Linked DNA regions of Homo sapiens: region 2 is linked to region 1. The links are contacts of gene promoters, found by promoter capture Hi-C in blood cells and fetal thymus (Javierre and others, 2016). All regions are on one chromosome and are shown on one strand. Each heading gives the region's core, a stretch centred on a gene start or on the middle of the fragment in contact. The rest is flanking DNA. Distances are from core to core; before and after follow the strand shown.

Region 1 (5,710 bases), core at 68-2,567:
TGGCATGGTCTCAAAAAACTGCAGCTGACTGCACATGAGTGATTAGATAACACCTTGAACCCACCCTAAGATAGTCTGCCTTTCCCTTCTTTCCTGTCTTCCTTCTTTTCTTTCTCCCTCTCTCTCTTCTCCTATTTCTCTTTTATCTTTCCTTTCCTTTATCCCCCTCCCCTCCTTTCCTCTTTTTCCCTCCCTTCTCTCTCTTTCCACACACACATAACCTGTATATGCCAGGCACTATTCTAGGTGCTTCACAAATATTAATTCATTCCATTCTTATATCAACTTTGTGAAGTAGGAACTATTATCATCAACATTATACAGAGAAGGAAGCTGAGGTAGAGAAAGTTTAAGTAACTTGTCCAAGGTTGAGCATCTTGTCAACGTCATTTTACTACTGGCATGTGAAACAGGTGAGTTATATTTTTTAGAATATTAATTCTCATTAATTGAAGCCTTCCAAACAGGCCTAACTGTCCCCTTCTCTGACATACAAGTGGAAGTGTCATAGCTGGACGGAGCATCATGGTATGAAGGCAGAAAGGACGCGACTGGGTGTTCTTCTGAAGCTCAGGGAGCAGCTCTTGGGGAGAAAGTGTTTCCAGGAAGCGGACAAGAGTTCTGTTGAGCTGAAGAGCAGGGCAGCAGCCGGGGCGAGCGAGGCTGGAGTCATGCAGGGCAGAGCCTTAAATGCTAAGCTGGGGTTTGCTCTCGGTAGGACCAGCTAGCTGCCCCGAGCGGGGGCTGGAACCAGATCTCCCCCACGTGGACTCGCGGACAGGGCGGGGATCAGGACGGGGGCGGGGCCAGGGGAGGGGCGGGGCTCGGGGAGTGAGGCAAGACTGGAGGGCCTGGGACTCTCGGGTACCCGGGCCAGGGGAGGGGCGGGGCTCAGGGAGGGAGGGAGAGACTGGATGACCTGGGGCTTGCAAGGCGGGGCGAGGGGAGGGGCGGGGCGAGGGGAGGGGCGGGGCTCAGGGAGGGAGGGTGAGACTGTGGAGGACCTGGGGCTCGCGGGGTCGGGGCAAGGGGAGGGGCGGGGCTCAGGGAGGGAGGAGAGACTGGAGGACCTGAGGCCCACGGGGGCGGGGCCAGGGGCGGGGCGGGGCTCTGGAAGGGCGGGCGAGACTGTGGAGGACCTGGAGCTGGCGGGGGTCAGGGTAGGGGGGAGGGGCAGGGCTCGGGGTTCGGGGGCGGGGTGTTCACGGTGAGACCAAAAGTCAGGTAGGAGCCTCCGGGGTCCCTGCTGTGTCACCCGGACAGGCCGTGGGGGCGGGCAGGGGGGCGGGGCCGGGCCTGACCACAGCGGCCGAGTTCAGTCCTGCTCTCCGCACGCCACCTTAGGCCCGCAGCCGTGCCGGGTGCTCTTCAGCATGTCCTTCATCCCGGTGGCCGAGGATTCCGACTTCCCCATCCACAACCTGCCCTACGGCGTCTTCTCGACCAGAGGCGACGTGAGCAGTGGGGCTTTGGCGTCCGGGCGCGGGGAGGGAGTGGAGTGGAGTGGAGTGGAGTGGAGTGGAGTGGAGTGGAATGGAGTGGAATGAGGGGCGGGATGGAGGCTTGTGCCATTTTTCTCTTAAGATTCGTTCCGTGAGAGTGCCTATGGGCTCGAGTCCCGCCTCGTAACTTTCTAGCTGTGCACGTTGTTTAACTTTTCAGCCTCATTGTCCGCAGGTTTGCTGAGAATTAAATGCAAAATGAAATGAATCGTGTCACTCTCCCAGACAAGCAGAGCAAGCAGGATTCTGTTACCGGAAGCTGCAGCACACAGGCATGCTGCCTACTCCGAGGTGGTTGCGGTGTGTTTCTCTCGCCCAAGAGGCCAGGTCAGGGCTGGTGGTTCATCTCGCTGGATAGCCCCTAACCCTAGAACCCGGGAAATGATAACCCGGTATGCGTAGCAGGTCAGAGGGGCACGCGCGTTTCTTGGCTTAGAGTTGTGAGATCTAAGATGGCAAGTGTCTCTGCCTATAGCTGAAATTCTTTCAGCTCCTGGTGTGGGCTCCCTGGCATTCCCCTACTGATCAGAAGAAAGAGGGCAGGGAAACAAACTTTGACTAAGTCAGTGTAGTCTGATTGGTAGAAAGAAGTATTTGAAAACTGGGGGTTTATCAGCAAATAGATAATAAGAGGTTCCCTAGGTTGGAAAAGCAGATTCCCTTGGATTTGTTGATGATATTTTTGGCTTAGATTTCTGCTCCCAACTTTAAAGGTAAACTCCTGATTCATCTCTGTAAGCCATAGAACCCCAGAATCAGGAAATGTTTGCTAAACGAGGGGCCTGGCAGTTGGCTTCTTCTTGGAAAGTGGGGTTCCCTCCTTCCCCCATGGCTTGTCATTGGATGCAAGTGGCTGGCCTTTTGTGGGCCTGTCTGCGGTAAGTGCTTTGGTCTAGAAGAGTCAACTTGTGGTTTCACATCTGGCCGGGCTGACCAGATGTTGCAAGGATACAGAAAGTGGACACTCAATCCCCTGGAGGACACAATCTGAGGCACATTAAATCTTAACTTGTGATGGCCAACAACCTTTCTGCAGACAGAGCCCTCCCTCTGCCCTCCTCAAACACTTTGCCCTCGGCAGATGTGTCCTCCCTCACCTTTCCTGGGAGCACAAATCCATTAGACAGAAACATTTGTGAGAGGCAGGCACACCCCAGTAGGGAGCTCTGACTTGCTTTCTCAGGGGAATCGAATTAATATCCGTTAGAGTGTGGCTAGGTGTTTTCAGACACCATGTCCCGCTGTTTCAACATCAGAATGTGCAGGGCAGCCACTACAGATGTCTGGAAGAGAGAGCCCCATTCCGCTGTCCTCTGATACAGTGCTGGGGGTGGAGAGTTGGCCCTTTGGCCTTCCAGCTGAACAAGCCTCTTCTGAAGCTTTCTCTGCAGGCATTGGACATTCCAACCGTGATGGCTGCCTTGCCAGGCAAGACTAGTTGCCAAGGCAAAACCTCCCTTCCCCCATGTCAGCAGTCAGCCTTTCCTAATTTGAGTGGAATAACAATGAATCCTGCCATCACTTTATTCATTTTTTTTTATTCAGCGAATGCTTATGAACCCCAACTCTGGTCCAGATTTTGCCTGGGCTCCGAGTTGGCATCAAAGACACAGGAGACGCCTTCCTTCCATTTCTGGTTGATGGACTAGTAAGGTGTACAGGGGTGCTCTCTGTGAAGGTAGGGGTGGTGGCCTCTGAGAACGGGGTTGTAGTAGTGTGGAGCTGGTTTTGCCGGGTGCCTTGTTAAAGTCCCCGTGGTCTGGCTGTGCTGCTGCCTCCTGGCCTCTGCTTTCTCCAGCCACATTGGCTGCCTTTGAGTCTCTGAGATGTGCTAAGAGCAGCTTCCTGCCTTCAGGCCTTAGCACATGTTGTTCCTTCTGCCTGGAATACTCGTCCTTCTGCTCTCTATATGCTTGGCCCCTTCTCACTCTTTGGGACTCAGCTTAAATGTCACCTCCTAAGCACCCTCTCTGAATGAGCTCCCCGCTGCGGCCCAGCCTTGGTTATCTCTCACCACACCCTGTGTTTCCTTTTGCTTCTGGAGAGAAGGAACCACGTCACTGTTCCCAGGGCCTCAGCAGCCTTTGTGTAATGCTGGTACTGAGAAGATGCTCTCTAAATCTTTGTGGCATGAATAGCGTCTACCCTGTGTCTGTTCTTGTGGTGAGAGATTTACAGATATTAATTAAATTCTCACAATAAACCTACTGTGAAGTTATTGTCCCCATTCTACAGATGAGGAAACTGAGGTCCAGAGAGGCAAAGCATCATGCTCCAGATCTCACAGCCAGTAAGAGGCAGATATGGGGTTGATCCCCACATCTGTCAGCCTCCCAATCTGTAAGGTCCAGCCCTACGGGGCTTAGCGGGTTTTCTCCCTGTGTGCGGAAACGAGAGATTGTAAGAAATAAAGACACAAGACAAAGAGATAAAGAGAGAACAGCTGGGCCCGGGGCACTGCTACCACTGAGACACAGAGACCGGTAGTGGCCCCGAATGGCTGGGCACACTGATATTTATTGCACACAAGACAAGGGGGGCAGGGTAGGGAGGGTGAGTCATCCAAGTGATTGATAAGGTCAAGCAAGTCATGTGATCATGGGACGGGGGCTCTTCCCTCTAAGGTAGCCGAAGCAGAGAGGGAAGGCAGCATAAGTCAGCATTTTCTTCTATGCACTTATAAGAAAGATCAAAGACTTTAAGACTTTCGCTATTTCTTCTACCGCTATCTACTACAAACTTCAAAGAGGAACCAGGAGTACAGGAGGAACATGAAAGTGGACAAGGAGCGTGACCATTGAAGCACAGCACCACAGGGAGGGGTTTAGGCCTCCAGATGACTGCGGGCAGGCCTGGATAATATCCAGCCTCCTACAGGAAGCTGGTGGAGCAGAGTGTTCCCTGACTCCTCCAAGGAAAGGGAGACTCCCTTTTGCGGTCTGCTAAGTAATGGGTGCCTTCCCAGGCACTGGCGTTACCGCTTGACCAAGGAGCGCTCAAGCGGCCCTTATGCGGGTGTGACAGGGCTCACCTCTTGCCTTCTAGGTCACTTCTCAGAATGTCCCTTCAGTACCTGACCCTATACCCACCGGTTATTCCTAGGTTATATTGTACTACAATAAAGAGTAATATTAAAAACTAATGATTAATAATGTTTATACTAATAATCGATAATTGTCCATGATCATCTGTATATCTAATTTGTATTACAACTGTATAGCAGTATAGCTACAGTTTATGCCTTCAGTCTCTTGCCTCGGCACCTGGGTAATCCTTCGCCCACACCAATCCCATGCTTCCCCCTCTATGTCAGGCTGGGAGTTGGGTAATGCTTTCCTTTGGACAACTTTATATCAGATATGACCAACTATTTTAAAACAAAGGCAATGCACATTCATTCTCTTGAAGTTAGACAAATGCGGTCTCCCTCCTTAGTTTGTTTCCCTCAAGTTGCAGATGGGAAACTGAGGCCCAGAGACTTGTCCAAGGTGATAAGATGGTGAATGAGGGAGCAGACTTGGAGCCCAGGAATCCTGGATCTGACCTGTGAGCCCCCTCTAGTTTTGTGCTGAAGAAAATAACTCCCAAGGTTGAAAGTAGAGGGACTCACTCTCTCAGACTTTTTCTGGGTCCTCAGGTCATAGTTTGAAGCACAAGTTTGAAGCTTCTAGGCTTTGTTTGCATTTGAGGCAGCAGGCAGCTGCACTTGTGACCCCATTTTGGAAGTTGCTTACTGGTGGTGACTCCTTCTTGCCTTCAGCTGGGGTGTGGGGACCAGGGTCAGAGATGTGGTCCAAGGGTCTGCCCTGCACATTCCCTGAATGGAAAGCCACTTGGATTCAGGTGGTTCAGCTCTTTGCCTAAAGCAGATTTGCCATTTTCAGGAGGGGAAGACTGAGGCCCAGGGAGTTGGCAGTGGGGCTGAGAATGAGTAACTAAGCTCTCCAGGCAGCCTCTTCTAGGGTAGGCTCTGCTGGGACCTCAGATGAGGAGTATGGCTCTGGTCTACCCCGATTCCAAGAGCTGACATGCGTGGAGAAATGGTCATCTTTTCTCAGCCCACCCCAGTGAGCAGCCAATGGAGATAAGGCCAGCCAATAATCCCACCACTAAGCTCGCTGGCACTGAAATGGCCAAGCTGGTGGTTCAGGAGAGCTGGAAGCCTGGCTCAGGACAGAGCCCTGGGAAGTTGAGTCTGCAAACATGCC
Region 2 (5,783 bases), core at 1,809-4,308, 770 kb before region 1:
AAAGCCAATTTCTTGTTGGCAAAGTATTCAGTCACATTAGGTTTACTTTCTTTATTTAATAAAACTAGAAAGGATTGACTTTATTTTTCAATATGTGTTTCAAAAAATAGTATTTTCCAAAGAACAATTAAGGAATAACTTAAAAGCACATCTTGTAAGATATATTACTACGAGCAATCAATAATGAAGTGATATATATCTAATAATTACTCTAATATTACTGCGATGTAAAGTGTGGCTAAAATTTGTTCTTTAAGAAGCTAGGTATATGAGGCATTTATTTGAAAAATGTGTATGTATTTGTGTATTAAACAGTGGTGGCTAGCTTTTTGAAATAATTAACAAATAAGAACCATGTATAAAGTCAGAAATTATTAATCACATTAGATATACTGATCAAACTTTCCTTATGTATTTAATGAAAGTGTATAAATGAATCAGTCTGACAGCTAGCATATAATTTTGTTTTTTCTTAAAAAGAGAGAAAAATATTAAACATTTTATAAGCTGAAATAAGGTAATGGCAGAATAATTGGAATAAATATTTCATAATATGATGTGTTATGTGATAGGTTTTAACTATATTATTGAATGAAACACACCAAATCTGAAAGATCACAAAAGGTTTTTATCTGCAGGAATGAGTCAGTGTACACTGGAGAATTCTGGTAGCTCAGAAAACATTCTTATCATGCTTAAAAGTATCAGCATCACTAAGATGTGCAGGTCCTTGGTATATATATGTCTAAAAGCAATCACTTAAATATTGAGGGAGGGGCCGGATCACGAGGTCAGGAGTTCGAGACCAGCCTGACCAACATGGTGAAAACCTGTCTGTACTAAAAATACAAAAATTAGCTGGGCGTGGTGACACACACCTGTAATCCCAGCTACTCGGGAGGCTGAGGCAGGAGAATCGCTTGAACCTGGAGGTGGAGATTGCAGTGAGCCTAGATTGTGCCATTGTACTCCAGCCTGGGCGACAGAGCGAGACTCTGTCTCAACTATATATATATAGAGAGAGTTATACACATATATATATAAAGAGAGTCTCAAATATATATATAGTTATATATAGTTATATATATAGTTATATATAGTTATATATGTTATATATGGTTATATATAGTTATATATAGTTATAGTTATATATAGTTATATATATAGTTATATATAGTTATATATATGTAGTTATATATATAGTTGTATATATGTAGTTACATATATATAGTTTTATATATATATATATATATAGAGAGAGAGAGGGTATATTTTCTGGGGCTCATTTTTATGTTTTCAGAGGACTCTCCCTCAAGAGTGCTGCTCTACTTGGCAATATTTGGGGGATGGAAGAGGTGAAACCCTTCACTGCGGTACTCTACAATATATCCAAATTCAGAACACTCTAGCACAGGCCAACATAGGCTCCGATGTCTCACTTAGCCTCACAGAAATATCTCCCAGACCTGCAGACACAGACAAATCCTAGACAAGCCTATGATGCTTTGATTAATCACTAATGGAGTTGTCCTTGAAGACAGTATTTTAAATTGTCCCTTTGACATCCTGCAGTTTTTTTACAGCTCAGGGCAATGCACAATAGTAAGATTCAGGATGGATAAGGATGTGTCTTTCTTTTTTGTCCAAAAATGCCATTTTAAAGAGAAGATGGGCAAGGAGACTGTATCTGATCATTCCAATCTGTTTTCAGGCAGATTTTAAGAATGACAGTCGAGGCACCTGGAAATTGATTCCCTTCCAAGTCTCTGTGCAAGGGGTATTCTTGCAAAATCTTAGCTTTTTAGTGCAATTTGATGCTCACTGGTATAGAGTCCCATGCAAGGCGATTGCTACCACCAGGTGGCAGCATCCTCTAGTTGTTGGTGGGCTCTAAGGCAGGAAAGAAACCCAGTTAAGTCTGTAACCTTAACAGCCTTGAACAAATGAACCTGAGCCAAGGCAGAGTGCACACAGACCCCATGAACCAAAGGAGACAAACCCACAACAGACAGAAGCTAAGGTGAATGTCTCTTAGTCTCATTTTCTGCTCACTTCAGCATGAACAGCTTGAGAGATGCACACTTAGCAAAACAGGATGAAGGTTAAAAGGTCCTCTGGAGCGGTAAGGAGGTAGCAGGTGATCTGTAGTCAAACTCCTAATTGTTCCTCTGAACCATTAGCACTTTTGGGCAACTTTTGTCTAGAACAAGTGCTAAATGTCACAGAGGTTTGTTCCCCTGCCCAGTGGTGCCCAGGCTGAGAGGGCAGGTTTAACCTGGTATCTCATCAGAACAGGGACAAAAGAAGACAAATCATATTGGAGCCACTCTCACCTGGCTTGGTCTTATTAGAGCTACCTGCTCTCCCCTGGGGTGATAAACAGTTGCATTTGCCTGATTCTTTCACTGGTTTAAAAGGCTGTGTGTCCTGTGATTGCAAAGTCAACTCAGACTGTTGACTTAACAATGTCAGAGCTGCCCTTCCTGTCCTCAAAGCACCTTCCTTCTTCCTTCCAGAGCTCACTGGGGTCTTAATGCTGTCAGAAGTATCCATATGGACTTAAAAATATTGCATCACAGCCTAGAGGTGACCAGCTCTATCACTAATGAAGAAGCAATTTAAGCTTTTGGGGCCCCAGTTTCCCCATTAGTAAAATCATGTGCATTGTGTACAAAGTAGCTGCTTGAGCGGAGCTTCATTATTCAACAGGGCTTAGATTTTTCTGGACTTTGCAGGAAGAAGTCTCTGCCCTTCTGGGTTTTGTGCTCTGCAGCTATGGACATGAAGATCACCCCATCCTCTCGGCAGTCCTCAGCAACATGAATGGCAGGCCTGTCCTAGGAAGAGATAGACATCAAGGCCACAATGCAAGCCATGCGCAGGTCATGGGTTCATGGTACTGTTGAGTTTTGACTCTTTACTGAGGAACTGAACTGGAATGAACAGCTTAGCAGGCATTATTCCTGGAAGGAACTTTCTAGGGAGGCTATAAGCTGGCTGGACCCCCAGACTCTGCTCTGTGTTCTGCCTCACTGAAAAACAAAATAGTTGTGACTAGCCCTACCTTCTCTTGGCTGACAGTAGTACCTGCTTGGAGCTGCTACTTGCTGATACCCACATGAGCCCAATGCCAGAATGCATAGCTAAAGTTCTGTTGCAAAGGGAGAGGTCATTCTTCCAGTGATGCCTGGCCTGCACTGGCAGCACCTATCCCACAGTGGCCCTCTGGCCTTCCCCAGGCTACCAGAAGCTGTGTCTGCCCTTCACAATTCTTCTGGGTGCTCAGCTCCTTTGGCTCAGAAGTTCACTACCTCTACCCTCTAAACTCCTGGCTGGAAACCTTAATCCCTTTCTCTATGTCCTCCACTTCACTCTGAACTTCTACCAGTATGGCTAATGGCTTTTTCAGCCACCTATCCTTCCTGCCACTCCTCATCCTGAATTTCAATCAGATCATCTACTTGTGAAGTAGTGTTTTCAGATATAGGTGCAGGGAAGCTTCTTTTATATTATCTTTCATGGGTATCTCATACTATTGTTCTTACCAACACAATATAGTCTTTATTCCCATTGACAAAGTCAATTACAAGGGCATAAACACGATTTATTTCTTTTCCAAGGGTCCCAGTGCTTCACCAACACCAACGCCACCACTAAGGGTTCCAGTGTGATCACCATCTGGGATCTACCTGTTCCAACTGCTTGTTTACCTCCTGTGCATGCTCCACGGGACATGGCTCTTTGCCTGTAGATCGCCAGGTACCCACAGCTTTACTGCCATGGTGCACTTCACTTCCTGCCTTGTCCACTCTCACCTGCACCAGTTATTGCTTACGTGGTAATCAGTATAGTCATTGATCTTCAGGGACCATCCAGCTACCCGATTTCCAATGTGGCTGCCTTTGCTATCTTGTTTTGGAAAATGTCTTAAGGCTGTTGAAGATTATATCTATTTGATCCTTTGTGCCCTTAGATGGAGAAAAGAAATGTATTGAGTAGAAGCTCTGAAAGTTTGGAAGGTCCCTCACACCATCCTCAGGTTCAGAGTTTCACTAGATGAAGTCACAGAACTCAGCAAGCCAATTTACCCATGGTTACAGTTTGTTAGAGCAGAAGAATACATTTGAAAATCAACAATAAGAAAAGGTACAAAAGGTAAAGTCTAGGAGAGACCAGGAATGGAGCTTCCCACTTGTCGCTCCCCAGTGAAGTCATACAGACTGCACTTATCTCTCCCCGCAACGATGTGTGACAATATGCCTAGGGTATTGCCAACTAGGGAAGTTCACTTGAGTCTCAGTGTCCAGAGATTTTATTGAGGAATCAGTCACATAGATATGGCTAGCCACCATACGACTGACTTTGATCTCTAGCCCCTCCAGAGATAAAGCTGATGTTGTGTTGTCCAAGGACCTCACCATAAATCTTATGGTTAGTACAGACTATCTGGCATGGCCCAAGGTCCTAGGTTTATAAAGACACTTTTGAAAGCCAGGACATTCCAAGGGCTTAAATGTTACCTTCCAGAAACTGGGGGTAAAGAGCCAAAACTTTCTTTGGGTTAATCCTTTACTGCATAAGCTCTAAGACCCCAATAATTCATGGCCCTATTTCTGGGGCATGATTCAGCCCAGAGAAGAGATCGGAGAAACCTACCTCCCATCATCAAAGAGCTCCTGGATGTTCCATCAAGCAAAACTGTGGGAGGAAATTCAGTGTTCCTATGGAGATGGTGGTGTGACCTGAGCTGGCTCAGAGGTTCTAAAAGCTTCTTCTCAAACATTGGCAAGGTCACAGGTACCCAATAAGGTACATCTTCCCTTTCCTTCAACAGTCCAAAACCTCCAGAACTCTCTCGAGGCAGTGATTAATACTAAACAAAGGACTTGAAGGATAGGAGGGATTCTGAACAGGGTAGAAATAAATAGTAGTGTGGGATATTCGTATAGTTTTCTTGGAAGAGGTAATATTTGAGTAGGATCTTGAAAAATGAGTAGACGTGTAAATGCCACAAGTAAAGGCAAAGATATATACATCATTGTCGGAATAGGAAAGAGTGTGGCACATCTGGGAATGATGAGGGGCCTTATGCAGCTGGGGGAGTCTATTGGTCAGACATGAGGCTGGAAATGGTGCAAGGGCTAGATAGGGAAGGGCTTCATATGCGATGCCAAGAGGCACAGACTATGCTGTGATTCCCTGGCAGTATAGCTGGTGGGACAAAGAGAAATCAAACTCAAAAAGTTCCCCTCTTGTCTACCATGTGTATACTCAAGTAGGTGATGAGATTGTAGGAAGAAGGTAGGATATAATAGCAGATAATTGGGTAGCCATATAGAAAAATCAAATAAAATTTGACCTTTACCTTATAAAACATATTTTTAAAAACCCAGTCTGGGTGTGGTGGCTCATGCTTGTAATCCCAGCACTTTGGGTGGCCGAGGTGGGAGAATCGCTCGAGCCCAGGAGTTTGAGACCAACCTGGGTAACATAGTGAGACCTCATCTGTATAAGAAATGAACAGCAGAGGGGCGAAGATGGCCAATTAGAAGCAGCTGCAGTCCGTGGCATTCACGGAGAGGAATGAAAGGCGTGAGTGAATACAGCACCTTCAACTGAAATATCCAGGTTCTCACATTGGGACTGATTAGGGAAACAACTTAACCATGGAGAATGAAGAAGAGCAAGGTTGGGTGATGGCCCACCTGGGAGTGACACAGAGCTAAGGGAAGTGGTGAGTGATTGTGTGACCCTGGAAAAACATGCTTCTCCCACGGATCTTT

The links. Contacts are between HindIII fragments. The CHiCAGO score rates a contact against its expected background, and 5 or more counts as called.
Region 2: a contact is called between a fragment that was not itself captured here and the fragment with the promoter of FAH in region 1, in 1 of 17 cell types (activated CD4 T cells). The highest score is 5.5, in activated CD4 T cells.

The regions. Positions count from the first base shown.
Region 1 is chr15:80,151,682-80,157,391 of GRCh38, forward strand. FAH (fumarylacetoacetate hydrolase) reads left to right here and starts at 1,318. Exons shown (of 14, transcript NM_000137.4): 1 at 1,318-1,454. The coding sequence starts at 1,374. RefSeq lists a silencer at 747-1,306. The HindIII fragment of the contact is 7,995 bases long and covers 1-2,879 here.
Region 2 is chr15:79,379,348-79,385,130 of GRCh38, forward strand. It overlaps a transcript of TMED3 not described here. Among named protein-coding and RNA genes, the nearest start is that of MINAR1, 50 kb to the right of the region's middle. RefSeq lists a silencer at 1,780-1,829 and an enhancer at 1,920-2,129. The HindIII fragment of the contact is 875 bases long and covers 2,622-3,496 here.